Linked DNA regions of Homo sapiens: all the other regions are linked to region 6. The links are contacts of gene promoters, found by promoter capture Hi-C in blood cells and fetal thymus (Javierre and others, 2016). All regions are on one chromosome and are shown on one strand. Each heading gives the region's core, a stretch centred on a gene start or on the middle of the fragment in contact. The rest is flanking DNA. Distances are from core to core; before and after follow the strand shown.

Evidence for each region. The method cuts DNA at HindIII sites, captures the fragments that hold promoters and counts their contacts. A CHiCAGO score of 5 or more calls a contact.
Region 1: a contact is called between a fragment that was not itself captured here and the fragment with the promoter of COX6A2 in region 6, in 1 of 17 cell types (erythroblasts). The highest score is 5.6, in erythroblasts.
Region 2: the fragment with the promoter of BCKDK here is called in contact with the fragment with the promoter of COX6A2 in region 6 in 4 of 17 cell types (monocytes, M0 macrophages, megakaryocytes and 1 more); the score reaches 7.8 in monocytes.
Region 3: a contact is called between a fragment that was not itself captured here and the fragment with the promoter of COX6A2 in region 6, in 6 of 17 cell types (M0 macrophages, naive CD4 T cells, M1 macrophages and 3 more). The highest score is 10.4, in M0 macrophages.
Region 4: a contact is called between the fragment with the promoter of PRSS53 here and the fragment with the promoter of COX6A2 in region 6, in 2 of 17 cell types (monocytes and megakaryocytes). The highest score is 7.3, in monocytes.
Region 5: a contact is called between the fragment with the promoter of STX4 here and the fragment with the promoter of COX6A2 in region 6, in 9 of 17 cell types (M0 macrophages, megakaryocytes, total CD8 T cells and 6 more). The highest score is 10.1, in M0 macrophages.
Region 7: a fragment that was not itself captured here is called in contact with the fragment with the promoter of COX6A2 in region 6 in 16 of 17 cell types (total CD8 T cells, naive CD8 T cells, M1 macrophages and 13 more); the score reaches 14.4 in total CD8 T cells.

What each region holds. Positions count from the first base shown.
Region 1 is chr16:31,726,615-31,730,230 of GRCh38, reverse strand. The region is part of intron 3 of KRABD5 (KRAB domain containing 5); the gene reads right to left. Among named protein-coding and RNA genes, the nearest start is that of KRABD5, 15 kb to the right of the region's middle. The HindIII fragment of the contact is 8,496 bases long and covers 1-3,616 here.
Region 2 is chr16:31,105,957-31,109,854 of GRCh38, reverse strand. BCKDK (branched chain keto acid dehydrogenase kinase) reads right to left here and starts at 1,469. Exons shown (of 12, transcript NM_005881.4): 1 at 1,376-1,469; 2 at 437-808; 3 at 276-344; 4 at 72-182. The coding sequence starts at 631. RefSeq lists enhancers at 1-851, 852-1,745, 3,353-3,898 and a silencer at 1,077-1,616. The HindIII fragment of the contact is 13,040 bases long and covers 1-3,898 here.
Region 3 is chr16:31,123,766-31,127,523 of GRCh38, reverse strand. It overlaps KAT8 (lysine acetyltransferase 8), which reads right to left. Exons shown (of 11, transcript NM_032188.3): 4 at 436-489; 5 at 171-335. Among named protein-coding and RNA genes, the nearest start is that of KAT8, 8.0 kb to the right of the region's middle. The HindIII fragment of the contact is 7,764 bases long and covers 1-3,758 here.
Region 4 is chr16:31,087,084-31,091,170 of GRCh38, reverse strand. PRSS53 (serine protease 53) reads left to right here and starts at 2,228. Exons shown (of 11, transcript NM_001039503.3): 1 at 2,228-2,419; 2 at 3,345-3,365; 3 at 3,472-3,634. The coding sequence starts at 2,362. It overlaps VKORC1 (vitamin K epoxide reductase complex subunit 1), which reads left to right. Exons shown (of 3, transcript NM_024006.6): 3 at 1-317. The coding sequence ends at 37. RefSeq lists an enhancer at 2,051-2,551. The HindIII fragment of the contact is 23,145 bases long and covers 1-4,087 here.
Region 5 is chr16:31,031,325-31,034,899 of GRCh38, reverse strand. It overlaps STX4 (syntaxin 4), which reads right to left and starts at 1,342. Exons shown (of 11, transcript NM_004604.5): 1 at 1,065-1,342; 2 at 786-887; 3 at 575-674; 4 at 364-438. The coding sequence starts at 1,094. RefSeq lists enhancers at 484-994, 1,507-2,018. The HindIII fragment of the contact is 4,602 bases long and covers 1-2,771 here.
Region 6 is chr16:31,426,796-31,430,584 of GRCh38, reverse strand. COX6A2 (cytochrome c oxidase subunit 6A2) reads left to right here and starts at 2,225. Exons shown (of 3, transcript NM_005205.4): 1 at 2,225-2,332; 2 at 2,434-2,570; 3 at 2,728-2,854. The coding sequence starts at 2,260. The coding sequence ends at 2,811. The HindIII fragment of the contact is 1,386 bases long and covers 1,465-2,850 here.
Region 7 is chr16:31,069,379-31,073,485 of GRCh38, reverse strand. The region is part of intron 1 of ZNF668 (zinc finger protein 668); the gene reads left to right. It also overlaps a transcript of ZNF646 not described here. Among named protein-coding and RNA genes, the nearest start is that of ZNF668, 2.8 kb to the left of the region's middle. RefSeq lists a silencer at 1-95 and enhancers at 1-278, 1-370. The HindIII fragment of the contact is 265 bases long and covers 1,416-1,680 here.

The sequences.
Region 1 (3,616 bases), core at 579-3,078, 300 kb before region 6:
AATTAAAGGAATTCATCACCACTAGACCTGTCTAGAAATGCTAAACGACTAAAGGGAATTACTCAAGTTGAAGTGATGAAATGCTAACTAAATATGAAAACATTAAAACTACAAACATCACTGGAAATGGTAAATAGTGAAATTCAGAATACTCGAATATTGTAATGGTGGTACATAAGTCACTTTTAATTCTAGTATAAGAACTATAAAACAAAACTATTTTTTAAAAGTATAGCTATGATAATTTGTTAATGAATACAAAATATAAAAAGTTTTAAAATGTGACATATATAGTATAAAATGTGTGAAGGGGAGGAAAAGCATAGAGTTTTTCTATGCATAAAAGTTGGATAATTATCATCTTAAACTAGGCTGTTATATGATGTTTTATGTAAGTCTTATAACCACTAGAGAAAAAAAAACTGTAGTAGATACAAGAAAAAAAGAAAGTAATCAAAGTATATAAAAACAACAAAAACAAGACAAAAAATTAACATGACCAAAGCATAAGAGGAAAAAAGAAACAAAGTATAAAATAGAAAACAAACTTATAATAGTTACCTATCAATAATTACATATAAAGAGATTAAATTATCCAATAAACAGACATTGATAAAGACTGAATGTCACTTCCAAAATTTAGGTTAAAATTTAATAGCCACTGTGATAGAATTAAGAAGTGGGACTTTTAAGAAGTGATTAGGCCATGAGAGCTCTGCCTGCATGAATGTATTAATGTCCTTATCACAGCAGTGGGTTAATTATCACAAGTGTGCGTTTGTTATAAAAGGGAGCTCTCTCCCCCTCGTGCCTTTGGCCATGTTATTATGCAGCAAAAAGGTCTTCACCAGATGCCAGTGTCATGCTCTCTGCCTTCCCTGCCTCCAGAATCACAGGCTAAATTAATTTGTATTCCTTATAAATCACCCATTTCATTATAAAATACCCTGTGAATATTCTGATATAGCAGCACAAAATGGATTTAAAACAGACAGTGGCTGAATGAATTTTTAAAAATCCAGTGACAGGTTGCTTACAAGAGACTCACTTTTGATTTAAGGACAAACATAAGCTAACAGTGAAAGAACTGGAAAGGATATTCCATACAAATGATAAACAAAAGAGTGCAGGCAGGGGTAGCTATACTTACATTAGACAAAACAGGCTGTCTGACAAAATCTGTCACAAGAGACAAAGGAGTTAACTATATAATAATAGAGAGGTTAATTTGTCTAGAGGATAGAGCAATTAAATAGATATATGCACCCAACACTGGAATACTTAAATATATAAAGCATACATTAACAGAACTGGAAGGAGAAATATACAGAAATACAACAAAAGAGAACATTAGTACCCTACTTAAAATGGATAGATCATTCAGGCACAAAATTAAGAAAGCAGTGCACTACTATAACACTATAGACTAAATGTACATATAACATCCCATCCAACAATATGAGAATACAGTCTTCTAAGAATACATGAAATATTCTCCAGGACAGATCACATGTTAAACCAAAAGTAAAAAGCAGTAAGTCTTTTCAAATGTATAAAGATTAAAATTATATCAAGTTTTTTTTTCTGATTGCACTGATATAAAACTGAAAATCAATAGCAGAAAGAAAACTGGAAATTCACAAATACGTAAATATTAAACAACACACTCCTGAAAAATCAATAGGATGAAGAAGAAATCAAAAGAAAAATCTAAACATATCCTGAGACAAATGAAATTGGAAACACAAGAAACCAAAACTTCTGTGATGCAACCAAAACAGTTCTAGTACAGAAGTTTATAATAATAAAGTTCTACATTAAGAAAAAAAAAGATGTTGAATAAGCAATCTAACTCAATTCCTCAAGAAACTTGAACATGAACAAAATAATCCCAATGTTAGCATAATTATGAAAATAGTAAGAATTAGAACAAAAAGAGACTAAATAAAGACTAGAAAGGCAATAGAAAAGATCAAAGAAACTGAATTGAGTTTTTCAAAGAAAACAAAATTGAGAAACTTTTGGCCAGATTAAGCAAAGGATCAAAAAGAGAGAGGACTCAAAAAATTATAAGTGGGCTGGGTGCACTTCCTCATGCTTGTAATCCCAGTGCTTTTGGAGGCCATGGCAGGTAAATCACTTGAGCCCAGGATTTGGAGACCAGCCTGGGCAACATAATGAAACCCTTCTCTCTAAAAAATACAAAAATTAGCTGAGCATGGTGGTACACCCCTGTAGTCCCAGCTACTTGGGAGATGGGAGAATAACATGAGCCTGGGAGGTTGAGGCTGCAGTGAGTTATGATCATGCCACTGCACTTTGGTTTGGACATCAGAGTGAGACCCTGTCTCAAATAAATAAATAAATAAATACATAAAAGAAAGAAGGATGAGTCATTACAACTGACAACACACAAAGAATAATAAGAGACTACTATGAACAATTATATGACAACAAATTGGATAACTTAGAAGAAACAGATTCTTAGAAATGAATGACTCACCAAGATTAAATCACAAAGAAACAGAAACACTGAACAGACCAATAATAAGAAAGGAGATTGAAGCAGTTATAAAAAAATCCAATGAGAAAAAGCCCATGACCAAATGAATTCATGGGTGAATTGTATCACACATTTAAAGATGAATTAATGTCCATCCTTCTCAAATTCTTCCAAAAAATTGAAGGGAAAAAACACTGCCCCTTAGTTTGCATGTAATGAAAAGTGGGTATATAAGTACATGACTGCAGAACTGCTCCTCTCAGCACACTGCCTACAGGGTAGCCTCGCTCCACAGGAGCAGTCATAGAGCTGCAACACTGCCAGCTCAATAAAGCTGTTTTCTTCTACCACTATCTTGCACTTGAATTCTTCCTGAGTGAAGCCGTGAACCTTCCCAGGATAAGCCCCAATCTGGGGGCTCACCTGCCCTGCAACAAGAGCAATTAGGTAAAAAAAAGAAATAAAAGGCACTCATATCAGCAACGAAGAATTGTAATTTTCTCTGCTTGCAGATTAGGTGATTTTATATACAGAAAACCCTAAAGAGTATACAAAAAGAGTTAGAGCTAATACTCATTCAGTAAAGCTGAGGTCACAAAATTACCATACAAAAATTAGTTGCATTTCTATATACTAACAATTAATGATCTGAGAAAAAAAGTTAAGCAAACAATCCAATTTATAATAGCATCAAAAGTATAAAATTCTTATGATTCCATTTAACAAAGGAGGTGAAAGATCTGCTCAGTAAAATCTGTAAGACAGTGATGAATACAATTGAAAAAGACACAAATAAATGGAAAGATATCCCTTGTTCATGGACTGGAAAAATTAATACTGATAAAATGTCCACACTACACAAAGTGATCTACAGATACAGTGTAATCCCTATTAAAATTCCAATGTCACTTTTCAGAGAAATAGAAATAAATTCTAAAATTTATTTTATTTTATTTTATATATATTTTTTGAGGCAGAGTCTCGCTGTTGCTCAGGATGGAGTGCAGTGGCGTGATCTTGGCTCACTGCAACCTCCGCTCCTGGGTTCAAGCAATTCTCTTGCCTCAGCCTCCTCAACAGCTGACATTACAGGTATGCACCACCACACCTGGC
Region 2 (3,898 bases), core at 220-2,719, 320 kb after region 6:
TCTGGGCCCCAGACTCCCCACTTGCCCCCGGGGCAGGGTGGCCCGCTGACCTAAGGTCCTCTCTACCTTACCACGTGCAGTATGGTGGGGTTGCAGCCAATGATGAAAGGAAGGCAGCGGAAGCCCTTGATGCGGTGAGCAATCCTCACTGGAAGTTCTTGCTGCAGGTACCGAGCACTTTTCTGGGAGAAAATGAGAAGGGAAGGCGGGGCTGGAGCCTGAGTGTCTGGGAGAGCTCCAGGATCCACGAGGAAAATAGAGGGCGTGAATCTTACCAGAAGGTGGCTGCCGTCCTGAGAGCGGCCAGCGTAGAGCATCATGGTGGGCGTTAGGCGGACTGAGGGCTAGAGAGGGAGAGAGGCCTTGAGCAGAGAACCCCCAACACTCTCCCTCCCGCCTACATCCCGGACCCTGGGCTGGCTGCCCCCTTGCGCACCTTCTCCGCTGCCGCGTCGATGGCCGACTGGTTGTAAAAGGAGGTGACGGTCTTGGAGCGCTCCCGAGCCATCTCCACGTGGTGTGTGTCGGTGGCCGACGTCGAGCGGGCCCGGAGCGCGAGTGCGGGTCCCAGGAGGGGCCGGAGCGGAAGCCCGCCCCCGGGACCGCTCCTCAGCACCGACGCCAGGATCATCGTCTTGCTCCTTTCAGACCCGGTGGCCGCTAGGACTGAGGATCCGCTAGGACTGAGGACCCAGGCGACCCAAAATGGGGCAAGGGGGTGTGGGTGGGTAGGGGCTCTTCTCCGACTTCAGGGACCAGGGTGCGTCGAGGATGCTGACAGGCTCAGCCCGCGGAGAGCAGCTCCCATCTACCGGGGCGGGGAAGAGGAAGTTGTAAGGATCCGAATCCACAGAACCCGCACCATCTCTCCACCTGTGCATCGGTCTCCCCAGACCCGGGCGACCTCTCCCCACCACTCCCACCGTCTCCCCAGATGCACACAGGCCGCGCCCAAAGGACCTAGCCTCCCGGGGGCTTCTATTCCCCAACCCGAGGCTCTACTGGCGGTGGGAGGGCTGTCGGGGGAGGAGCCCCTCAGACCCTTCCAGCCCGAAAACCTCGCCCCAGCGCCCCGGGGTCCCGGGTACCCTTCTCAGGGGGCGGGGCTGCCCCTGCCTGCCCAGCGCCTTCAAACCCGGGCCCTGGGAGCGCGGCCAGCGAACGTGCGACACCAGCCCTGGGCCCCTGGGGCCGGCTTGGGAGGGTGCGGCACGGAGTCCCCAGCGGGACCCCCCACGCGGGTCACTTGGTTCGGCCCGGATGCCCCCCATATGGTAGATGCCAGCCCCGTCTGCGCGCCCGCGCTGTGATGGAGGCTGCGGACGTGCGCCGCGGGGCCTCCGCGGACTGAGTAGGCTGGGGTCGCCCCACTTACCGCGGGGCCGGAGCCAGGGCCCGGGTCCCAGCGGAAGGGCTCGAACAGTCCACTCGCCAGGCGCCCAGCCGCCTGCGCCCTCCGCCGCCGTGACGTCGCGTGGGCGGCAGCGCCCGCTGGGTCCTGGGAGTTGTAGTTTGGTCTGAGGACGTGCCGTCCCGGGCGCCCGCGCATCCAGGCCACGCCCTTGCTCCCGGACCCCAAACAGCACCGCTTCCTCCACACGGCTCTCGAGGCTCTCCGTGTCCCTCCCAGCCTCTATCTCCTGCTCTATGAAACGGGCTCCCTGGGAGCTGGAAGATCTTAGATGTAAAGCGCACAGATCACGCCCTACCTGACTCCTTCTCGGAGCTCTTGTCCTCCTTCCAGTTCTTGGTTCATTTATGGGTAACCAGGCTTCAAACCCCAGCTCGACCCCTTAATATCTGGAGCAAGTTATTTAACTGCTCAGTGCTTGGTAAGATGAAGAGATATCATCAGTTTTGGGGTTGTGTGGATTACATGAATTTATATGAGTGCCTAGAACAGTGCCAGGCGTGGAATTAGCACTATATAAGGGTTAGGCATTATTATTATTCACTCATGCCTGCAGATAATGCAAGTCGCTGACTGGGTGTCTTTTCTGCACCAGGAGAGGAGATTGGGCAGTGAGTTGAATAGATCTTTCCGTGCCCTGCATAAGAAAACAGTTTCAGTATCATTGGCTGTGATGAGGACTTTCAGAGGAGGCTGCGGGAGCCTCAGATAGAAACTGAGACAGCTGTGTAGGTGCAGCCTGAGTAGGACTTGCAAGGGAGCGGGGTGGGAAGGGTGTGTGGCAGGACAGACAACAGCCCAGATGGTCTGAGGATATGGCTGGAGCCATATGGGATCTGGGAAGGAGAGGGGCGGCAGCAGAGAGCGAAGGATAAGTCTGCATTTGTCCTAGGGTAGTTAGGAACTACTGAAGGGTTTTAACTGGTGGGCTCTCCTCCTTAGACAGAACCCCTTGTCTGCAGTGATTTAGAGTGGGGCGTTTGGTGAGACCAAAGGCAGAGAAACCAATAAGAAGACAATTACTTTAGGCCAGGCGCAGTGGCTCAGGCCTGTAATCCCAGCACTTTGAGAGGACGAGGTGGGCGGATCTCAGGAGTTCCAGACCAGCCTGGCCAACTTGGCAAAACCCCGTCTCTACTAAAAATACAAAAATCAGCCGGGTGTTGTGGCTGGCGCCTGTAATCCCAGCTACTCGCGAGGCTGAGGCAGGAGAATCGCTCGAACCCGGGAGGAGGAGGTTGCAGTGAGCCGATATCCCGCCACTGCTCTCCATCCTGGGCAACAAGAGCAAAACTCCGTTGCAAAAAAAAAAAAAATTATCCAGGCAGGAGGCGCTGGAAGGGACACGTTTCAGTGTGTGCACGTGCATATGTGTGTAGTGTGTATTTGTACTAATTGCAATTTTCTTTACCATGGTTATATATTTCCTAAATATGTTCAATAAAAAGTGCTAAGTGAAGCAAGTGACATCTTTGGAGGCTATCTTTATTTATTTATTTGGAGATGGGGTCTCGCTCTGTTGCTCAAGCTGTAATACAGTCGCTCCATAGTAGCTCACTGCAGCCTCCGACTTAAATGATCCTCCCACCTCAGCCTCTCAAGTAGCCGAGACTGTAAGTGTGCACCACTACCCCCAGGGTGATTTTTTCCCCCTCAGGCAATCCTTTTGCCACAGCCTCCCAAAGTGCTGGGATTACAGACGTAACCCACCGTGCCTGGCCTATTTTTCTTAGAGCCGGGGTCTCGCTATGTTGCCCAGGCTGGTCTCAAATTCCTGGCCTCAGCCTCCTGAGTTGTTGGGGTTACAGGAGTGAGCCACTGGGCCTGGCGGCTGTCTTTAAACTTGGAGGTTAGCCAGGTGCAGTGGCTCATGCTTGTAATCCCAGCACTTTGGGAGGCCAAGGCGGGCAGATGACCTGAGGTCAGGAGTTCGAGACCAGCCTGGCCAATATGGTGAAACTCTGTCTTTACTAAAAATACAAAAATTAGCCGGATGTGGTGGCATGCACCTGTAATCCCTGCTACTCGGGAGGCTGAGGCAGAAGAATCGCTTGAACCCGGGAGGCGGAGGTTGCAGTGAGCCAAGATCGTGCCAATGCACTCCAGCCTGGGCGACAGAGAGAGGCTCCGTCTCAAAAATAAATAAATAAATAATAAATAATAAACTTGAAGGTGAAAAAAATAAATAATAAATAATAATAAATATAAACTTGGAGGGAGGACGCCTCACCGTGACTGGCCTGCCTGAGCAATTGGGGGCAGACCACGGGAAAGGGGCGCCCTGCATCTCTGGGTTTCCTCTTTGACCCCCACCCACACCATTCCCACCCGTTCTTTCCCAACGTCCTGGAGTACAGCCAGGCGGCGGCAGCCCCAAGGCAGCCACGGCTGGAGCCCGTGGTAAAAGGGAGCGGGAAGGGTGCTCCTGGCGGGGAGGACAGGCTGCGCAAAGCAGCAAAGGACTGGCAGTGGTCTGTGCGCCAGAAT
Region 3 (3,758 bases), core at 109-2,608, 300 kb after region 6:
AGCCAGGCCTGGAATCCAGGCCTCCTGACCCCCAGCAGCTCTTCCCTGTACTCGCTCCTTTGGGCCTGTCTCCTCCCTGGAGCTGCCGGCGCAGCCGCCCTCAGTCTCCATGCCTGCCTCTGCCTCTCACCGGGCCCCTGCCCAGCTCGGCCCGGCCGGCCCAGCCTCACCAAGTGGAAGCGGTAGCTCTTCTCATATTTCATGTACTTGAGGCAGTACTCGCAGAGCCAGAGCTTGGGCTGTTTCCCATAGTCTTCGGGGAATGGTGAGAAATACCAGGCATCAATTTCGTAGTTCCCGATGTGGATCTTGTCCACATACTTCACCTTGGTGATCTGCAGGCAGGGTGGGAGTGAGGCACAGTGCACGGCTCAGCAGGGGCTCCTCGGCAAGGGGAGACGGGGGACCTGCAGGCAGCTTCCCAGCCCCACTTACCGCCTCATGCTCCTTCTCCAAGGCTGCTGTGGTGGGGTCCATCTCTGCATAAGTCTGGGCCAGGAAAGAAAAGTGGGCAGAGGTGAACAGAAGTGGTGACCAGGCTGTCCCTCCCGTCAGGACCCACAAGGCTTCCCTGCCGTCTACCAGACCTCATTCCTGGATGGCAATAATAACCACACCAATAGCTAACCTATCTGACTTGGTTCTGAAGCTGGCTGGTCCAGACTCCTCTCACACCCACCCGCCCCACCCCCGATATCCCAGACATCCCTGATGTCCAAGTTTGGACCTTTTGCCAGATGAACAGGGTTAGGATCAGGATGGGGCTTCAGCTGCACGATGGGGGGCAATCCAGCTCTGCCAAAGTTGTGAGACTCAAATGAAATAACAGATTTGCCTTCCAGGCCCAGCGTAAGAACTGTTACTACCTCCCCGATGTTCCTGGACCCCTTTCCTGAGGACCAGACCCTGCCTGCCCATGCGACTGCCCCAGAGGTCCCTCCCACAGGGACAGCGGACTCAAGATGTGCAGAAAGGACCTCATCACTCCTCCCTGCAAACCTGCGCCTCCTCCTGGGTTGCTCATTTTACTGGGAACATCACCCTTGGTCCCAGTGTCCAAGACCCATAACTAGGCTTGCCTCAGACTACTCTCTCTCCCTCGGCCTGGCCAAGTCCTAATACAGTGGATGTCGAGTCTACTTCTGACATCTCTGGAATTGGGCCCTCTCTGGAATTCTCCTCTCTGTCCTGCTCCAGGTAGTCATGGCCCCATCTCAGGTCTGGACAATTTACTAGGCCGCCTCAGACTCCCTGCCTCCAGCCCCAGCCTCCTCATTGCTATCAGCAGCCCCCTTTTAGCGGCCTTCATGCTTCTGCACAAACAGCTCCTTCTACCTGGAGAATGCCCTTCCTTCTCTCACTGCCAGCAGAAAACACTTCCTCAGCCTGGCACGGAGCATGAGTCAGGTGAGTCCATGATGCTTTGTGATCTATCCTTTGTCACTGTTGTTATTGTGCTCTTTCCCATCCTTCAAGGCTTGAGATTCTTACCACCCCCTCCAGGAGGCCTGACTGGATTCTTCCCATCCAGAAAACATTCCCTCCTTCCCAAGTTCAGCGAGAAGTGGTCAACAGGGCAACACTGTCCAAGTATGCCCACCTGGGTTCCTCTATTTTTCAAGTCCTTAGAAAGCAGAGACTAAGAGTCACACCACACTCACAACACATCCTGCTCCTAGGCCAGACCCTGTGGGAGGAACCCAGTACAGCCTGACAATGGAAGGGGGACCCAAGACGGTCCATGACCTACACCAGGGCAGACAAGGCCCTGCCCTGTAGCTGAGAAGGGAGGAAGGAGCCAGTGCTTTACCCAGAACCCCCTCCACAAAGCACTGTGCCTATATGTTTATATGGCCTCATTTAATCCTTTCAGTAACCCTTACATAGAGTGTTATTTCTTTTTTTTTTTTTTTTTTTTTTGAGACGGAGTCTCACTCTGTTGCTCAGGCTGGAGTACAGTGGCACCATCTCGGCTCACTGCAACCTCCGCCTCCCAGGTTCAAGCAATTCTCCTGCCTCAGCCTCCCAAGTAGCTGGGACTACAGGCACATGCCGCCACATCCAGGTAATTTTTGTATGTTTAGTAGCAATGGAGTTTCGCCATGTTGGCCAGGCTGTTCTCAAACTCCTGACCTCAGGTGATCAACCAGCCTCGCACTCCCAAAGTGCTGAGATTACAGGCGTGAGCCACTGCACCCAGCTGCGTTATTTCAATTTTACAGAGTAGTAAACAGGCAGGGCAAGGTGAGGTCCCTTACCCTCGGGGACTAGTGAGCTGCCATTTATTCCAAGTGGCAAGCACGGCACAGACATGTTTTTTTTTTTTTCTTCTGAGATAGACTCTCACTCTGTCGCCCAGGCTGGAGTGCAGTGGGGAGATCTCAGCTCACCACAACCTCTGCCTTCTGGGCTTAAGTGATTCTCCTACGTCAGCCTCCCAAGTGGCTGAGACTACATGTGCCTGCTACCATTCCCAGCTAATTTATTTTGTTTTTTGAGATGAAATTTTGCTCTTGTTGCCCAGGCTGGAGCAATGGTGCAATCTTGGCTCACTACAACCTCCACCTCCTGAGTTCAAGCGATCTTCCCACCTCAGTGTCCCAAGCAGCTGGGATTACAGGCGCCCACCAGCAAGCCCGGCTAATTTTTTGTATTTTTGGTAGAGATGGGGTTTCACCATGTTGGCCAGGCTGGTCTTGAACTTCTGACCTTCAGATGATCCACCCACCTTGGCCTCTCAAAGTGCTGGGATTACAGGCATGAGCCATAGCCTTTTTTTTTTTTTTTTTTTTGAAATGGAGCCTCGCCCTGTCGCCCAGGCTGGAGTGCAATGGCAAAATCTCACGTCACTGCAACCTCGCCTCCTGGGTTCAAGCGATTCTCCTGCCCCAGCCTCCCAAGTAGCTGGGATTACAGGTGTGCACCATCACACCCAGCTAATTTTTTGTATCTTTAGTAAAGACAGGGTTTCACCATGTTGGCCATGCTGGCCTCCAACTCCTGACCTCGTGGTCTGCCTGCGCCTGGCCTCTTTTTGTATTTTTAGTAGAGACGGGCTTTCACCATATTGGCCAGGCTGATCTCGAACTCCTGACCTCAAATGATCCAATCATCTCAGCTTCCCAGAGTGCTGGGATTACAGGCATGAGCCACTGCACCCAGCCGACATTATTTCATTTTGTTCCTCACAATGAGCCTTTGAAATAAGAGTGCTCATTGTCCCTGTTGTATGAGAGAAAACTGAGGCACAAAGAGGTGAGGTCACTTGCCCAAGGTCACAGAACTGGTACTCAGCAGAGTTGGGCATGGGCCCCTGGTCTGTCCAATTCTGAACCTAACCACTGTAAAGATGAGGAAGAAAGATTTTCCTCCTCACACATCTCTTTAAAACACATTTCCCAATTCTCACAAAATACAGTACTCTTCTGCAAATGCAATAAAGAACTACAAAAACACTACTTTTCTTAATTGTTGCAATTTATTTAGAATTAAACATTAATTAGGCTCTGAAGAACCTTGCTGATTGTTAACTGGATGATTGTTTCATTACCTATTCTTTGATTTTATCACCACTGGCCCGTTATCCACCCTGCTGGTTGCCAACTCAGAGGTATGTCTTTGTTGAGTGCAAAACAGTTGAGGAATTAATCTTAGATCTACACTGTCCAATAAAGTAGCCACTTGTCACATAGGGCTATTTAAAATTATACTCAGCTAAACGTGGTGGCTCACGCCTGTAATCCCAGCACTTTGAGAGG
Region 4 (4,087 bases), core at 979-3,478, 340 kb after region 6:
GGTCCAAGAACCCCAGGGCAAGGCTAAGAGGCACTGAGCCCTCAACCCAAGCCAGGCTGACCTCATCTGCTTTGCTTTGGCATGTGAGCCTTGCCTAAGGGGGCATATCTGGGTCCCTAGAAGGCCCTAGATGTGGGGCTTCTAGATTACCCCCTCCTCCTGCCATACCCGCACATGACAATGGACCAAATGTGCCACACGCTCGCTCTTTTTTACACCCAGTGCCTCTGACTCTGTCCCCATGGGCTGGTCTCCAAAGCTCTTTCCATTGCCCAGGGAGGGAAGGTTCTGAGCAATAAAGTTTCTTAGATCAATCAGCCAAGTCTGAACCATGTGTCTGCCATGGACTGTGGTGCTGGGCCTCCCTCGGTGTTGCCTTCTCTGGAGCTGGGAAGGGTGAGTCAGAGGGAGAGTGGAGGGCCTGCTGGGAAGGGTGGTTATGGGTAGTCTCATCTCCAGTGTGTGGAGTCAGCAAGGCCTGGGGCACCATTGGCCCCCACCCCCAGGAAACAGGCTGGCAGCTCGCTCCTGCTGCCCACAGGAGCCAGGCCTCCTCTCCTGGGAAGGCTGAGCACACACCTGGAAGGGCAGGCTGCCCTTCTGGTTCTGTAAATGCTTGCTGGGAAGTTCTTCCTTGAGTTTAACTTTAACCCCTCCAGTTGCCTTATCGACCATTCCAAGCCAGTATTGGTAGCCTTGGAGGGTCAGGGCCAGGTTGTGAAGGTTTTTGTTTTGCCTATTATGCCCTGACCACTTACCTACATGCCAAGCACTGTTTAAGAACTTGTGTTGGCAGGGTGCAGTGGCTCACACCTGTAATCCCTGTACTTTGGGAGGCCAAGGCAGGAGGATCACTTGAGGCCAGGAGTTCCAGACCAGCCTGGGCAAAATAGTGAGACCCCTGTCTCTACAAAAAAAAAAAAAAAAAAAAATTAGCCAGGCATGGTGGTGTATGTACCTATAGTCCCAACTAATCGGGAAGCTGGCGGGAAGACTGCTTGAGCCCAGAAGGTTGAGGCTGCAGTGAGCCATGATCACTGCACTCCAGCCTGAGCAACAGAGCAAGACCGTCTCCAAAAAAAAACAAAAAACAAAAAAAAACTTGTGTTAACGTGTTAAACTCGTTTAATCTTTACAGTGATTTATGAGGTGGGTACTATTATTATCCCTATCTTGATGATAGGGACAGAGTGGCTAATTAGTATGCCTGAGATCACACAGCTACTGCAGGAGGCTCTCAGGATTTGAATCCACCTGGTCCATCTGGCTCCAGCATCTATATGCTTTTTTTTTTGTTGGTTTGTTTTTGAGACGGACTTTCGCTCTTGTTGTCCAGGCTGGAGTGCAATGGCACAATTTCGGCTCACCACAACCTCCACCTCCCAGGTTCAAGTGATTCTCCTGCCTCAGCCTCCCGAGTAGCTGGGATTACAGGCATGCGCCACCAGGCCTGGCTAATTTTGTATTTTTAGTAGAGACAGTGTTTCTCTATGTTGGTCAGGCTGGTCTCGCACTCCCGACCTCAGGTGATCTGCCTGCTTTGGCCTCCCAAAGTGCTGGGATTACAGGCGTGAGCCACCATGCCCGGCCAGCATCTATAATATATGCTAAACCTTACCCACAGCTGCCTCTGTCTTGGGGTCAGGGTTCTTGAATGGTCTGGGCCAGCCTGAGTTAGGAGTGGGAAGAGGAAGAGGAGGCACGCGCCAAAGTGTTCTTCCCGCCTGACCGAGTCCTCTGCGCCTATGAGGAAGGTGGGCACCGCTGTCACCCTGTTTCCCAGGAAGCCAGCAGGCCCAGGGAGATACTGGGATTTGCCAAAGGCTCACAGCGAGCAAGCAGCAGTGGGTGCTGGCTCCTCACCACTCAGCCTGGCACACACTGTCTCTGAGCAGACCTGGGAGAAGGCATGTGAAACCCACCTAGCCCTGGCTGGAAGAGAAGTGGGGGAGTGGAAATGAAAAGTGGGGACTGGGAGGAGCTGCCCACGTGCCCTCCATGGTTCCAGGATGGCACTTTCATGCTGGGAGTGAGCTTGCCCTGTGCCAGGCTGTCATTGAGACGTTTTCCATTCAACAACTGTTTCTCAGACAAGGCACAGGCAGGTTAGCTCTCCCAGGCCACTCAAGTAGTAAGGAAACAGATTTAAACCCAGACAATTTGGCTCCACGGCTAAGGCCCAGAGAGGGGTGGTGACAAGCCTAGGGTCACACAGCCACAGCCCCAGAGCTAGGAACTGCTGGCTAGGGCAAGCAGACAGCTGAATCCTAGCCAACTGGAGGTGGAGCAGAGGTGGAGCCAGGGAGACCCAGGTGGCCTCTCTCAGAGTGGAGCACAGGTGGCAGAGTGGCCCGGGGCAGCATGAAGTGGTGCTGGGGCCCAGTGCTGCTCATCGCGGGTGCCACAGTCCTCATGGAGGGTAAGCCGCCATGTGCTGGGGTATGGGTGTGGCCTGGTGGGGGCTCAGGGGCCATCTCTGCCCCAGCAGTCCCTGCTTCTTGGTGGGGGGACCGCCTGTGGGCGACAGTCCACCAGTGGGGATGTAACTCCGTAGGACTCTGTGGGGTGGTATATGTGGCCACCTGTGTCAACATGGATGAGATTTTCTCGGGCCAGCTGCAGTTTGCGTTGGCGGGGCCTGTGGTCTTGTGTGTGTGTGAGGTGCTGCCTGCGTGTGTCCTGTGCCTGCCTCCCCCTCGACTTCCACAATGACGTCAGGCAAACTCTGGGCTCCTCTGGCCTCAGTTTCCCTTTCTTTTCATCCATCCTCTGGGCAGCCTGGCTCAGCTGTCTCATGGGGTGCCTGTGTGCCTGTGAGGGGCGGTGGGCAGGGGCCCTCTCTCTGGCGGGCTCTCAGACAGTTTCTGGGAAGGTGGGGAAGACTGAGTCTCTAGACCAGGGTGAGGTAAGTCTCCATTTCTTGGGGCCCTCCCCACTTGGAAATGATGCAGGCCTCTAATCCTTCCTCTTAGGCCTCTGCTGCTAAGAGGACAATTAAGCTAATGCTCTCTACACACACAGGCCGCCTGGCTGACTCAGTGGCGGGGGCAGGAGTTGGGGGTTCTGAAGCCTGGAGGAGGGCTGGCCTACTCCCAAGCTGAACCCCAAGCCCCAGAGTGCTGAGCACAGCTGAAGGAGAATTAATTACTGAGTGTGCACACTGAATAGGTTCCAATAAAAGCTGTCTCGGCCTCATATAAATATTTTCATTCTGGGAGGGGCTGGTAAGGTAATCAGAGTCACAGGCAAGGACCCTGGGCCCGCCCCCCAGCCCATCCCCTCTCCTCCCCAAAGCTAGGCAGGCCTGGAGTCCCTGCATCTTACCTGTGTCTCTCTCTTCCCAGGTCTTCAAGCCGCTCAGCGTGGTAAGGTCTGGGGACACGGGGCCTAGGTCTTACTTGGGTCTGGGTTGGGACTGGGGTGAGGTCAGGACAGGTATCTGCTGTCAGTGTGACTAACTCCTTTCCACAGCCTGTGGACAGCGTGGCCCCGGCCCCCCCAAGCCTCAGGAGGGCAACACAGTCCCTGGCGAGTGGCCCTGGCAGGCCAGTGTGAGGAGGCAAGGAGCCCACATCTGCAGCGGCTCCCTGGTGGCAGACACCTGGGTCCTCACTGCTGCCCACTGCTTTGAAAAGTAAGTCATGGCTGGGGTCAGGCAGGGTCTCCGGCTCTGGGGAGTGGACAATTTGTCTCAAGCCCCACAAGGCTAGTCCCTGCCTCTAGAGTAATAATAAAGAACCATTTACTGAGAATCTGCCATGTACTGGGTACATATTGTCAAGTTAATTGTAACAACCACCTTTCATGGTAGAAGATTTACAAATCAGAAAACTCAGGTTGCAAGGGAATGACCTCGCTTAAAGTCACAGACTGAGGCCGGGCACAGTAGCTCACGCTTGTAATCCCAGCCCTTTGGGAGGCCACGGAGGGAGGATCGCTTGAGCCCAAGAGTTCAAGACTAGCCTGTGCAACATAGCAAGACCATGTCTCTACAAAAACTGTAAAATTAGCCAGGCATGGTGGTGCACGCCTGTAGTCCCAGCTACTCACGAGGCTGAGGTGGGAGGATCGCTTGAGCCTGGGAGGT
Region 5 (3,575 bases), core at 93-2,592, 390 kb after region 6:
AAAATGACTAAGGCTGAGCCTCTAAGAGGAGAAAGTAAGTTTATTTTTCTTTGCATTACATCACTGAGTTCCCATAGGTATGCAGAGGCCACCTAACAAAACTCCATCTCCCTGCCCAAAGAATGCCCAGTGGGCAGCGATAACTGTGTAAGTAAATGGTTTCATTGTAAATAAAAGAACCTGAGAGGCGGACTTGTGCTGTGGAGAGTACAATGGCCTGGAGGCCAGGAGACAGATGCTAGACCCAGGCCTGCTGTGTGACCTGGATATATCACTGGCTTCTCTGGGCCACACACTCCCCAGATATACCAACAACAGGGCAGGATCAGAGGGAAGGATCTGTCTGAGGTCCCAGGAGCTCACCCTTCAGCTGCAGGCGGATCTCCCTCCCCAGCTGTTTGATCTCATCGCGCAGGTTCTGCAGCTCCTGCTTCATGCCTGAATAAGAGAAGGCCAAGACTCCCAAACAGCAGCCCCCACCTCAACAAACCACTCTGGCCACCACCTGCGTGGAACTACAACCCCCACAATCCCTGGGGCGGAGCATGCGCCCTGCAGCCGGGGTTTCACTCACTCTCCTCGGGAAGGGGCGTGGCCAGGATGGTGACCTGCTGTTTCTCCAACTCCTGGACTTTATTCCCCAGTTTGACAATAGTCTGCCGAATTGTCCGGACCTGGGGAGGGTGACCGAGAGGGCTGAAAGAGATATGGGGTACTCCAGACCACGCTACTCCTCGGGTCCTCCTACACCCTCGCGAATCCAGGCGGAGACCCCAGCCCCTTACCTTGTGGAAGAACTCCTCGTCCGGGCTCCCCAGCCGTGCCGTGCCCGGGTGCACCACCAGCGCGACCCGCTCCTTGTCCTCTTCGTCCGAGCTGTCATCCCCCTGCCAGGCCCGGAGTCATTGGCACCACCGTTTCGCTGCGGCTCTTACCCCGCAGGACCCACAGGCTTCCGGGACTTTCCTTCCTGGCCATCAGCCACCCCTCCCTATCCCGAAGACCAGAAGTCCTGCGTTCCAGTTCGTCCGCCCGTCCCCATCCCCGCTGCCCTGGCGTCTCACCTGTCTCAGCTCGTGGGTCCTGTCCCGCATGGCGGCCTGAGCTCTCCCTCCCCGGCGCCAGAGCCGGGAGGCCCTCAAATTTGGAATTCCCGTACCCCGCTCACACTCTGACACTCCCCTCCCTCCCCCTGCGGACCCCAACACCCCCACGAGCCGCCAGAGGCTCCGTCCCTTGCACCGCCCACAGTCAATGGGAAGGCGCCGACCCCGGGGACCCCCCAAGGTTCCACAGGTTGGAATTCCCTTTTCTTCCCCGCTCCAGCTCCCGCAGCCTCAGCCCCGCCCCTCCGTGATAAATTCGGGGCATGCGCACATGGTCGCGTCTCTTCCTTGCCCGAGGCTGGGAAGGTGGAGTCGGAAGTTGTTGCGCCCCGAGCGGAAGCGGAGATGCCTGGACGCGAGAACTTGCTACCGTCACCGGAACCGTTGCATCTTCCAACGGAAATCTGGTTGCCAAAAGGGGTAGGAATACGTCATTTGTACGTAATCCGAGACACCCGCATCTCACATCACCCCATGGTGCCCCCACCGCGTCACGTGACCAGCCCGGTCCCAAACTCGTGGACCGCAGAATGTGACCCTGTGACTGTCACGTGTCCCGGCTCTGTCACCGCCGTCTCTGGGACGCCGTTCTCATCACGACGTCCCCGGCACCCCAACGACCGAGCGACGCCCACACGGCCCCCGCGAGGTGGGGAGGGGCGCGCCGACCACCCCCAGAGGCCTTTCGAGGCAGTGGGTGGTAGGACCCTTGCTGACCTCGCCTTTATTGCTTTCGGGTCCAGGGCGTGGGCGGACTGACGACTTAGCATTTGGGGCTGTCAGCATCATGGGACCTTGAAAATCGGGAAATAATAGGATCCGAGTCGTCAGCGTCAGAAAATTGCAGGGTTGTGTGGGCAGGGAATCTGGGGGTGGGAAGTGACCTCAGCCAAGGCAGAAATCTCTTCTTCCGCATCCTTCTGGCGCAGCCTCTGACAGGTGGGCGGCCAGCCGGCGCCCTCCTTGAACACTGCAGCCCGGCTGCACTCACCACCTTGTGAGCCGTCAGACCATGTCAGGGCAGCTCAGGCTAAGAAAAGTGTTTGTATTGATCACGCTGCCTCCCTGCCACTCACACCCCCCAGCCCCTGCCTTGCATCTGAGGCCAGGTAATGACTTTGTTCTTAACTGAATCTGGGGAGTTCCTAGCCCAGTACCAAGAACATTACGGGCCCTCTATAAATACTTGTGGACAGAATTTCAGGCTTTCATGTATCTGAGGATAAAGCCCCTGGTTCCTTGGTCTTCTTTAGGCTTCAGGCTTTCTGACTGTGACACTTCTCTAATCCTGGCTATCTAGATATTCACTCATTTTTTATTTTTAAAAATTTTTACGAGATGCGGTCTCACTATGTTGTCCAAGCTGGTCTCTAACTCCTGGGCTTAAGCAATCCTTCTGCCTCAGCTTCCCAAAGTGCTGGGATTACAGGCATGCACCACCATGCACAGCAACATTCAGTCATTTAATGGATATTTTTTGGGCACATAGTATGGGCCAAACACTGTTCTAGGGCTGGAGATACATCAAGGACTAATAGACAAAAATTCCTGCACTCGTGGAACTTATATTCTCTAGAAGGAGTCCCCAAGGTCACTCAGCAAGTCTCAGCATAGCCGGGAATGAATAACAGGTCTCCTGGACCCCAGGGCTCTGTCCAGGAAGCTTCTGTGAAGGTACAAGCAAGGAAAGGAATGGACCCTTTCTGCTATGCCCTGGTCAGGAAACCTAGATTCCTGGGACTGAGTTGCTATGGACTTCTGGAAATCGCTTCCTGTCTCTAAGTGTGGATCTCCCTCTGCACAGTGGGTAACTGTAGGGGGATGGGGAGATCATCTTTATGGGTATCGGCTGCTCTAAACTTCAGTGATGATGAGGTTGGAAACTGTCAAGTGCTGTGTGATTCTATGTGAGGAGTTTTGGCTCTTCTCCTCTTCCTGTTAAAACCCAGCTCAGGCAGGGTGTGGTGGCTCATGCCTGTAATCCCAGCACTTTGGGAGGCTGAGGCAGGCAGATCACCTGAGGCCAGGAGTTGGAGACCAGCCTGGCCAACATGGCGAAACCCTGTCTCTACAAACATACAAAAATTAGCCAGGCATGATGGCAGGTGCCTGTAATCCCAGCTACTTGGGAGGCTGAGACAGGAGGATTGCTTGAACATGGGAGGTGGAGGTTACAGTGAGCTGAGATCACGCCATTGCACTCCAGCCTAGGTGACAGAGTAAGACTCTGTCTCAAAAACAAAACAAAACAAAAAAAAAAAACCCAGCTAGTAGGAGAGTGGTGCCCTGATGAACCCACAGAGGGAATGCAGGGTTTTTCCGGAGGCCAAGCCCTGCCCAGTGGTGTCCCCTGGAGATGATAAGGAAAGATTCTCTGCTCCTGGGTCTTTCATGTCAGCCTCTGCCTCTTCAGTCACTGCTGCTTGCCTCCTGCATCTTTTGTCCCCTGCCACCCGACCCCCTTCCCCC
Region 6 (3,789 bases), core at 976-3,475:
TTGACATCCCAGCAAGAAAACCTCTCCACAGGAGCTCCCAAGCTGAGAACAAAGGGATGGGAATTCCCAGGGAATTGTTTGGCAGCAACCAGAAAAACTCTGAGGGGCCTTTTAGGGGAGAAAAGAAACCTAGAACCTTTTCTTCCTTTTTTCCTTCTTTTTTTTTTTCTTGAGAGAGTCTTACTCTGTCACCCAGGCTGAAGTGCAGTGGCACAATCTTGGCTCACTACAACCTCCACCTCCTGGGATCAAGCGATTCTCCTGCCTCAGCCTCCCGAGTAGCTGGGATTACAGGCACGGGCCACCACACCCAGCTAATTTTTGCATTTTTAGTAGAGATGGGGTTTCACCATGTTGGCCAGGCAGGACTCAAACTCTTGACCTCAAGTGATCCGCCCTCCTCATTCTCCCAAAAGTGCTGGGATTACAAGCGTGGGCCACTATGCCAGGCCTCTAGAACTTTGTCAAGTAAAAATACCTGTCTTCATGTCTGTTTTCTCCAGGAGCCATTATCTTATATACGTAGGGAGGGGGCTATGTGTAGAGGGAGATGCCAGGTATCTTTAACTGGAATAGGGCCCCATCTTCTCTGCAACAATGCCAAAGTCCAGCTGGGAAAAAAACTGTAGGAAGAATTCTATTATAGCTCAGTGAGAGCTCAGGAATAATTTTTGTAACACTGTATAACATTTGACTGCTCAAGGAGGTTATTTTTTTTAAAAATAGCAGCAGCTTAAAGTTGGATGGAACATACTGTTCAGTTTATTACCAATGAGAAACAGGTATAGAGCCCCTTCTTGAAAATATATCTTCCTCGTTTTTTTTATATATTAAATTCAGATTATATGTCTATATAATTCATTCTTCTTTTGTATATTAAGTTCATATTAGTACATCAGCCCTTGATCAAAGCTAGAAGCTTCCTATTGGATTGTAATTCTGAAAAGGCATTGTTGTAGGGTTAACCAAAGTAACAAGGTTCAAGCATTCATTACATACATATTTTTAGAACACCTCCTTCATGCCAAGGTCCCTGCCCGTTGCTGAGGACAGAACAGGCAGATGTCATCCCTGCCTGGTCTTGTGGCTTTCTTGTGACCTGCTTTGATAGAGGGTTCACACCAGCCCTGTCTAGGCTTGCTTTCTCCAAGTAGTCATATTTTTCAGATTGAAATAATGCACTTTGCAGTAGACACCTGTCAGGCTTGTGGCTGCCTGGAACCTTTTGAATACTCATCCTAGACCTGGAGATTTTCCCTACAATTCCTGCCTCCCTAAGGCAGAATCCAGAGCTCAGTTTCCCATCCCCTCCTGCAGCTGGGGGACCTAGGGGTTGCCAGTTGGTGCAATCACATAATTCTTTCAGAAAAGAGCGACCCAGGATACAGGTTTCATGAAGAATCTGTTTTCAAGAGGGGATGAGGGTGGAAAATTCTGGTTTTCCAGGGCAGCCTTAATGAAGCTTTTGGCATCCAGGGTCCAGCAGTGTGAGCTGTGGGGGTGTCACTGCAGCTGGCCAACGGAATGACTTGTTTATGACTGTGCAGACTGTAGGCATCTCTGGCTATATCAGACATAGTAAGCTACCTAAGATTCTCAATTACTTATCTTCTAAAACTAGTAAGAGTGAGTTCTGTTCTTTGCAAAGAACTGTGACTAATACATATACTGAACTACTGTTACCTGCCAAAATCCAGGTTGACACATTCCTACCTTACATAAACTTCATAAAAATGATGTAAGGGCCGTGTAGTGGCTCATGCCTGTAATCCCAGCACTGTGGGAGGCTGAGGCGGGAGGATCACGTGAGCTCAAGAGTTCCACACCAGCCTGGACAATATAGTGAGATCCCCGTCTCCAGTATTTAAAAAATCTTTTAAGGTACGAATTATTATACATTTTACAGCTGAAAACACTGAGACTCAAAAAGACACTTAATTCATTCTACAAATATTTATTAAAGCCCAACTGTGTGCCAGCCACCAGGCATAGAATAGGGAACAAAATAGTTTCCCTGCAACTATATAAAAAGAATGGCATATTGTACTTAAATGCCTCCTTGCCAAAATAAGAGGCACAGGACAACAGCTGTCTGGAGATGACCTCAAGCCAGTCAGGCCCCATTTTAAATATAGAAACCCCTAAGAATAGCCGCCAGTGCTCCAGACTCAACAGGTGATTGGCCCAGAGAGGGGAGGTGACCCCAGGCCCCAGGAAAGGGAGCGAGGACAGCGCTGGTTCCCGGCTCCCCGCACCATCATGGCTTTGCCTCTGAGGCCCCTGACCCGGGGCTTGGCCAGCGCTGCCAAAGGAGGCCACGGAGGAGCAGGAGGTGAGTGGGGAACGGGCGGATCCGGGGGCTCCCCTACCCTGCCCACCTGTTCACAGGCCCGCCGCCCCAGGACCGCCGCGCTCACCCCGCTCCGTCCGCAGCTCGTACCTGGCGTCTGCTGACCTTCGTGCTGGCGCTGCCCAGCGTGGCCCTCTGCACCTTCAACTCCTATCTCCACTCGGGCCACCGCCCGCGCCCCGAGTTCCGTCCCTACCAACACCTCCGCATCCGCACCAAGGTACGCGGGACGGGCGCGCGGGCGGCACGGGGGTGCTGCGGGGGCGGGGGGGGGTGCTGCGGGGGCGGGGGGGGGTGCTGCGGGGGGGGGGTCGCGCGGGGCGCGGACTCCGGACTCACGGCGCTCACGCGCGCTCCCTCCCCCGCTCTCTCCACAGCCCTACCCCTGGGGGGACGGCAACCACACTCTGTTCCACAATAGCCACGTGAACCCTCTGCCCACGGGCTACGAACACCCCTGAGGCCCCGGACGCCCCCGGACACAATAAAGGTGTGAAGCTTCGAGTCTGCGGCTCTGTGGGGAGGGCGGGGCCACGGGGAGCGCGCCCAGAGGCGCCCGCTCCGCGCATGCGCCCAGCTTGGTAAGCGCTCCTGCTCCGCGCATGCGCCTAGCGCGGTGGGCGCTCCACGTGCTTTTCCCACGCCGCTGATACGGAGGTGCTCGAGGGAGCCTCCTCCACTCACAGGTAGGCGATCCCAGCTCCCTGTCTCTCACCTGGTAATAATGAGGCCTCCCTCTCACACACACCTATTAATAATTAGGGCTCTAGGCTGTAATGGGCTTCCGCGTACACCGAATCCTCACAGTAACGCTGGGAGCAGGGTATAAATTTAGTTCACCTTCTCCCGAGGAAGACCTGAGATTCTTGGGAATTAAATGACTTGTCCAAGTTCCGGCAGCTCGGCAGAGCCCCCATGGGAGCCCAGGGCTGCAGATCCTGAAGTCCCACTTCTTGCCTGACACCTGAGCTGCTGGTGTCTGTGAATCCCAGCTCTCTGGATTTCAGACGGAGGCTCCACAGTCCTGTGTGTGAGGCCTTGGGACCTAATGCTGGATTTGGAATCTTTTGATAATTCTCTATAATCTTTCTTTCTTTTTTTTTTTTTTTTTTTGAGACGGAGTCTCGCTCTGTCGCCCAGGCCGGACTGCGGACTGCAGTGGTGCAATCTCGGCTCACTGCAAGCTCCGCTTCCCGGGTTCACGCCATTCTCCTGCCTCAGCCTCCTGAGTAGCTGGGACTACAGGCGCCCGCCACCGCGCCCGGCTAATTTTTTGTATTTTTAGTAGAGACGGGGTTTCACCTTGTTAGCCAGGATGGTCTCGATCTCCTGACCTCATGATCCACCCGCCTCGGCCTCCCAAAGTGCTGGGATTACAGGCGTGAGCCACCGCGCCCGGCCTATAATCTTTCTTAATGAGTCTTCTATATGGGAAATCA
Region 7 (4,107 bases), core at 299-2,798, 360 kb after region 6:
TCCTAGAACCCGCCGGCTGTCTCCGCGGTTCTGGGCTGCGGACACCCAGGCTCGGCCCGCGCGGCTGCTGGCCCGGCGCGGTGTGGTCCCGGGGGTCCTAGAGCCCGCCATGTTTTGGGTTTTTGTCCCGGTCGCGTGGCCCGCGCTGCAAGATCCCAGGCGCCGGCGGCCCCCTCCCCTGCTGAGGCCCGGCCACCACTCCCGCGGTCCTAGAGAACGCCATCTTGCAAGCCTTTGTCCCTCATTCGGCCTTCCGTCCATTCATTTGTTCATCTCCTCATCCTTCGTTCAGTCCTCCTTGCCACGTCCTCCGAAGCCACGTTTTCTGAGGCTTATAACCGGGGTCCTGCCCTCCAGGGGCTGCCTGGCTGGCGGGGGCGCCGCGTACAGACGGTTGCGAGGAGCGAGGAGCTCCGGGTTTCTGCAACTCTCGGCTCCTCGGCGCGCTTCGTAGGCCCCACCGCCCTTCAAACTCCCACAAACTTAAGGGACCCCATTTTACTGATGAGGAAACTGAGGTCCAGAGCGGCGTGGGGCCCTTACCTCTCTACTGCCATAAAGTATTCCTGAGGGCACTAGGGAAGGGGGTTCTTGAAGGATGTAAAGGGGCTTTCCCGTTGGAGAAGGCAGGCAAGGGCTCCCCGAGCCCAGGAAACTGCATCTAGAGGTGGAGGATTGAGAATTGTGGCTGGAGGTTCGGTCGCTGCCGGGAGGAGGACTCTGTCGCTGGAGCTGAGGCTGGAAAAGTAGGTTGGGATCAGGTTGTGAACTGGCCCGGTAGGAGGCCTAGGATATGATTAGCGCTCACTTCTGCAGGGTTCATCCGCTCACTACGTCACTCCTGGCCGTGAGGCCTGTGTGGTGACTGCTTGTTTAGAGATGGGAAGATTGAGGTGCCTCCTTTTTCTCCTCATCCCTGCCCCAGGGTCCTAGCCTAGGATTTTTGGAAATTGAATCTTTGCTTGCCTAGTGAGACAGCAGAACTTCATCCCCTTCCTAAGCCAGTAGTGAGGCAAAGCAAGGCTTCATCGCCACGACAGGGAGCCCACTGTGGGATATTGGGGCAATAGTTGAGCCTTGTGGAGTTGGAAAGGTGGAGGAATTTAGTTAATAAACAGTTATTGGTGGACATTCTCACAAACTCCTACTGTGGAGGAGGCAGAGGCTACAGACCTGGGTTCAAATTTCATCTGAGGTTGGTTCTTTCCATTTGTTTTGGGTCACCACACAGGGTTCTGGGTGTAGAGGAGGCAGATGATCGGTTTCCTAGCCCTTTGCCAGCCTGGACTCTGGTGCTGGTGATGAAGAATTAACAGCCAAACCATAAGATGTGTAATGCTAGCAAAGCAATAGTCAGGGCTCAGAGAGCAGGTGTTTGGGATTTGAACACTGGCTGGGACCGTGACTAGTAAGCTTGTTTCTTTGTGGTGTCACTTCTCATAAGAACGCTAATCCTACTGGACCAGGGCCATACCCTTATGACGTCATTCAGCCTTAATTACTTCCATAAAGGCCTTGTCTCCAAATACAGTCACAATGAGAGTTAGAATTTCAATATATGAATGGACAGGGAACACAAACATTCACTCATAATGAACTGCTAGGCAGCTGTGCAGTTGGCTTGAGTAGTTGAGTATTATGCACAAAATGCTTAGAATGATACCTTGCCCATGGTAAGCTTGCAAGGAGTATTGTCCAGATGACACCATAAAGGAAATTAGAGAGGAGGGGTGCTGGTCACTGTGGCTCATGCCTGTAATCACAGCACTTTAGGAAGCCATAGTGGAGGAGCATCTGAAGCCAGGAGTTCTTGAGACCACTGTCGGCAGCGTAGTGAGACCTCCATCTCTATATACAAAGAATTTTTAATAAATTAGCGAGGTGTGGTGGTGGGTGCCTATAGTCCTAGCTACTCAGGAGGATTGCTTGAGTGCAGGAGTTTGAGGCTGAAGTGAGCTATGATTGAGCCACTGCACTCCAGGGTGACAGAGTGAGACCCAATCTCTAAATAAAAATAAAGGCCAGGCACGGTGGCTCACGCCTGTAATCCCAGCACTTTGGGAGGCTGAGGCGGTCGGATCACTTGAGGTCAGGAGTTCGAGACCAGCGTGGCCAATGTGGTGAAACCCTGTCTCTACTAAAAATACAAAAGTTTGCCAGGTGTGATGGCTTTCGCCTGTAGTCCCAGCTACTCGGGAGGCTGAGGCTGGAGAATCACTTGAATCCGGGAGGTGGAGGCTGCAGTGAGCTGAGATGCAGCCACTGCACTCCAGCCTGGGCAACAAAGACTTTCTCTCAAAGAAAATAAATAAATAAAAATGAAATAAATAGGCCGGGCATGGTGGCTCAAGCCTGTAATCCCAGCACTTTGGGAGGCCAAGGTGGGTGGATCACCTGAGGTCAGGAGTTCCAGACCAGCCTAGCCAACATGGCCATCTCTACTAAAAATACAAAAAATTAGCTGGCTGTGGTGGCAGGCACCTGTAATCCCAAATACTTGGGAGGCTGAGGCAGAAGAATTGCTTGAACCCAGGAGGCAGAGGTCGCAGTGAACTGACATCACACCATTGCACTCCAGCCTGGGCAACAGAGGGAGACTCTGTCTCAAATAATAATAACAATAAATAATAAAATAAATAAAAATAAGCCAGGCACGGTGGCTCATGCCTGTAATCCCAGCACTCTGGGAAGCCGAGGCAGTGGATCATCTGAGGTCAGGAGTTCGAGACCAGCCTGGCCAACATGGTGAAACTCCATCTCTACTAAAAATACAAAAAATTAACCAGGCGTGGTGGTGGATGCCTGTAATTCCAGCTACTCGGGAGGCTGAGGCAGGAAAATCTCGTGAACCGGGGAGGCGGAGGTTGGAGTGAGCAGAGATGGTGCCATTGCACTCCAGCCTTGGCAACAAGAGTGAAACTCTGTCTCAAAAATAAATATATAAATAAAAATAAAAACATTTTTTAAAAAGTAAAGAGGGCTGGGTGCGGTGGCTCATGCCTGTAATCCAAGCACTTTGGGAAGCCAAGGTGGGTGGATCACTTGAGGTCAGGAGTTCAAGACCAGCCTGGCCAACATGGTGAAATCCTCTCTCTACTAAAAATACAAAAATGAGCCAGATGTAGTGGCGGGCGCCTATAATTCCAGCTACTCGGGAAGCTGAGGCAGGAGAACCGCTTGAACCCGGGAGGCGGAGGTTGCAGTGAGCAGATATTGTGCCATTGCACTCCAGCCTGGGGGACAGAGTAAGACTCCGTCTCAAAAAAAGGGCCGGGCGCGGTGGCTCACACCTGTAATCCCAGCACTCTGGGAGGCCGAGGCGGGCGGATCACGAGGTCAATAGATCGAGACCATCCTGGCCAACATGGTGAAACCCCATCTCTACTAAAAATACAAAAATTAGCCGGGATTGGGCCGGGTGCAGTGGCTCACGCCTGTAATCCCAGCACTCTGGGAGGCCGAGGCAGGTGGATCACGAGGTCAGGAGATTGAGACCATCCTGGCTAACACAGTGAGACCCTGTCTCTACTAAAAATACAAAAAATTAGCCGGGCGTGGTGGCGGGCACCTGTAGTCCCAGCTACTCAGGAGGCTAAGGCAGGAGAATGGCATGAACCCGGGAGGCGGAGCTTGCAGTGAGCCAGGATTGTGCCACTGCACTCCAGCCTGGGTGACGGAGTGAGACTCCGTCTCAAAAAAAAAAAAAAAAAAAAAATAGCCGGGCGTGGTGGCGGGCACCTGTAGTCCCAGCTACTTAGGAGGCTGAGGCAGGAGAACTGCTTGATAGATAATCATGAGATTCCGTCAAAAAATAATAATAATAATAAAGAGTAGATAGAGAATGATTATCAGGGGTAAAGATAGCATTGAGAAAGGTAGTCATTCAGTGCTCCTTGGTTGGTTAAAAAAGGAAAAAATTTGGAATATTAAAAGGGGGGAAGAAAAGGAAAGGTGGTCAAGAAAGCTCTTTTTGAGGAGGTGACTGGGAGCTGAGATCCAAATAACACCAAAAAAGACAGCTACACAAAGATCGTGGGAGAAGAGTGGCTCAGACAGAGGGAACTGCTAGTGCCACTGCCCTGAGGTGGGAAGGAATTTAGCTCTTTG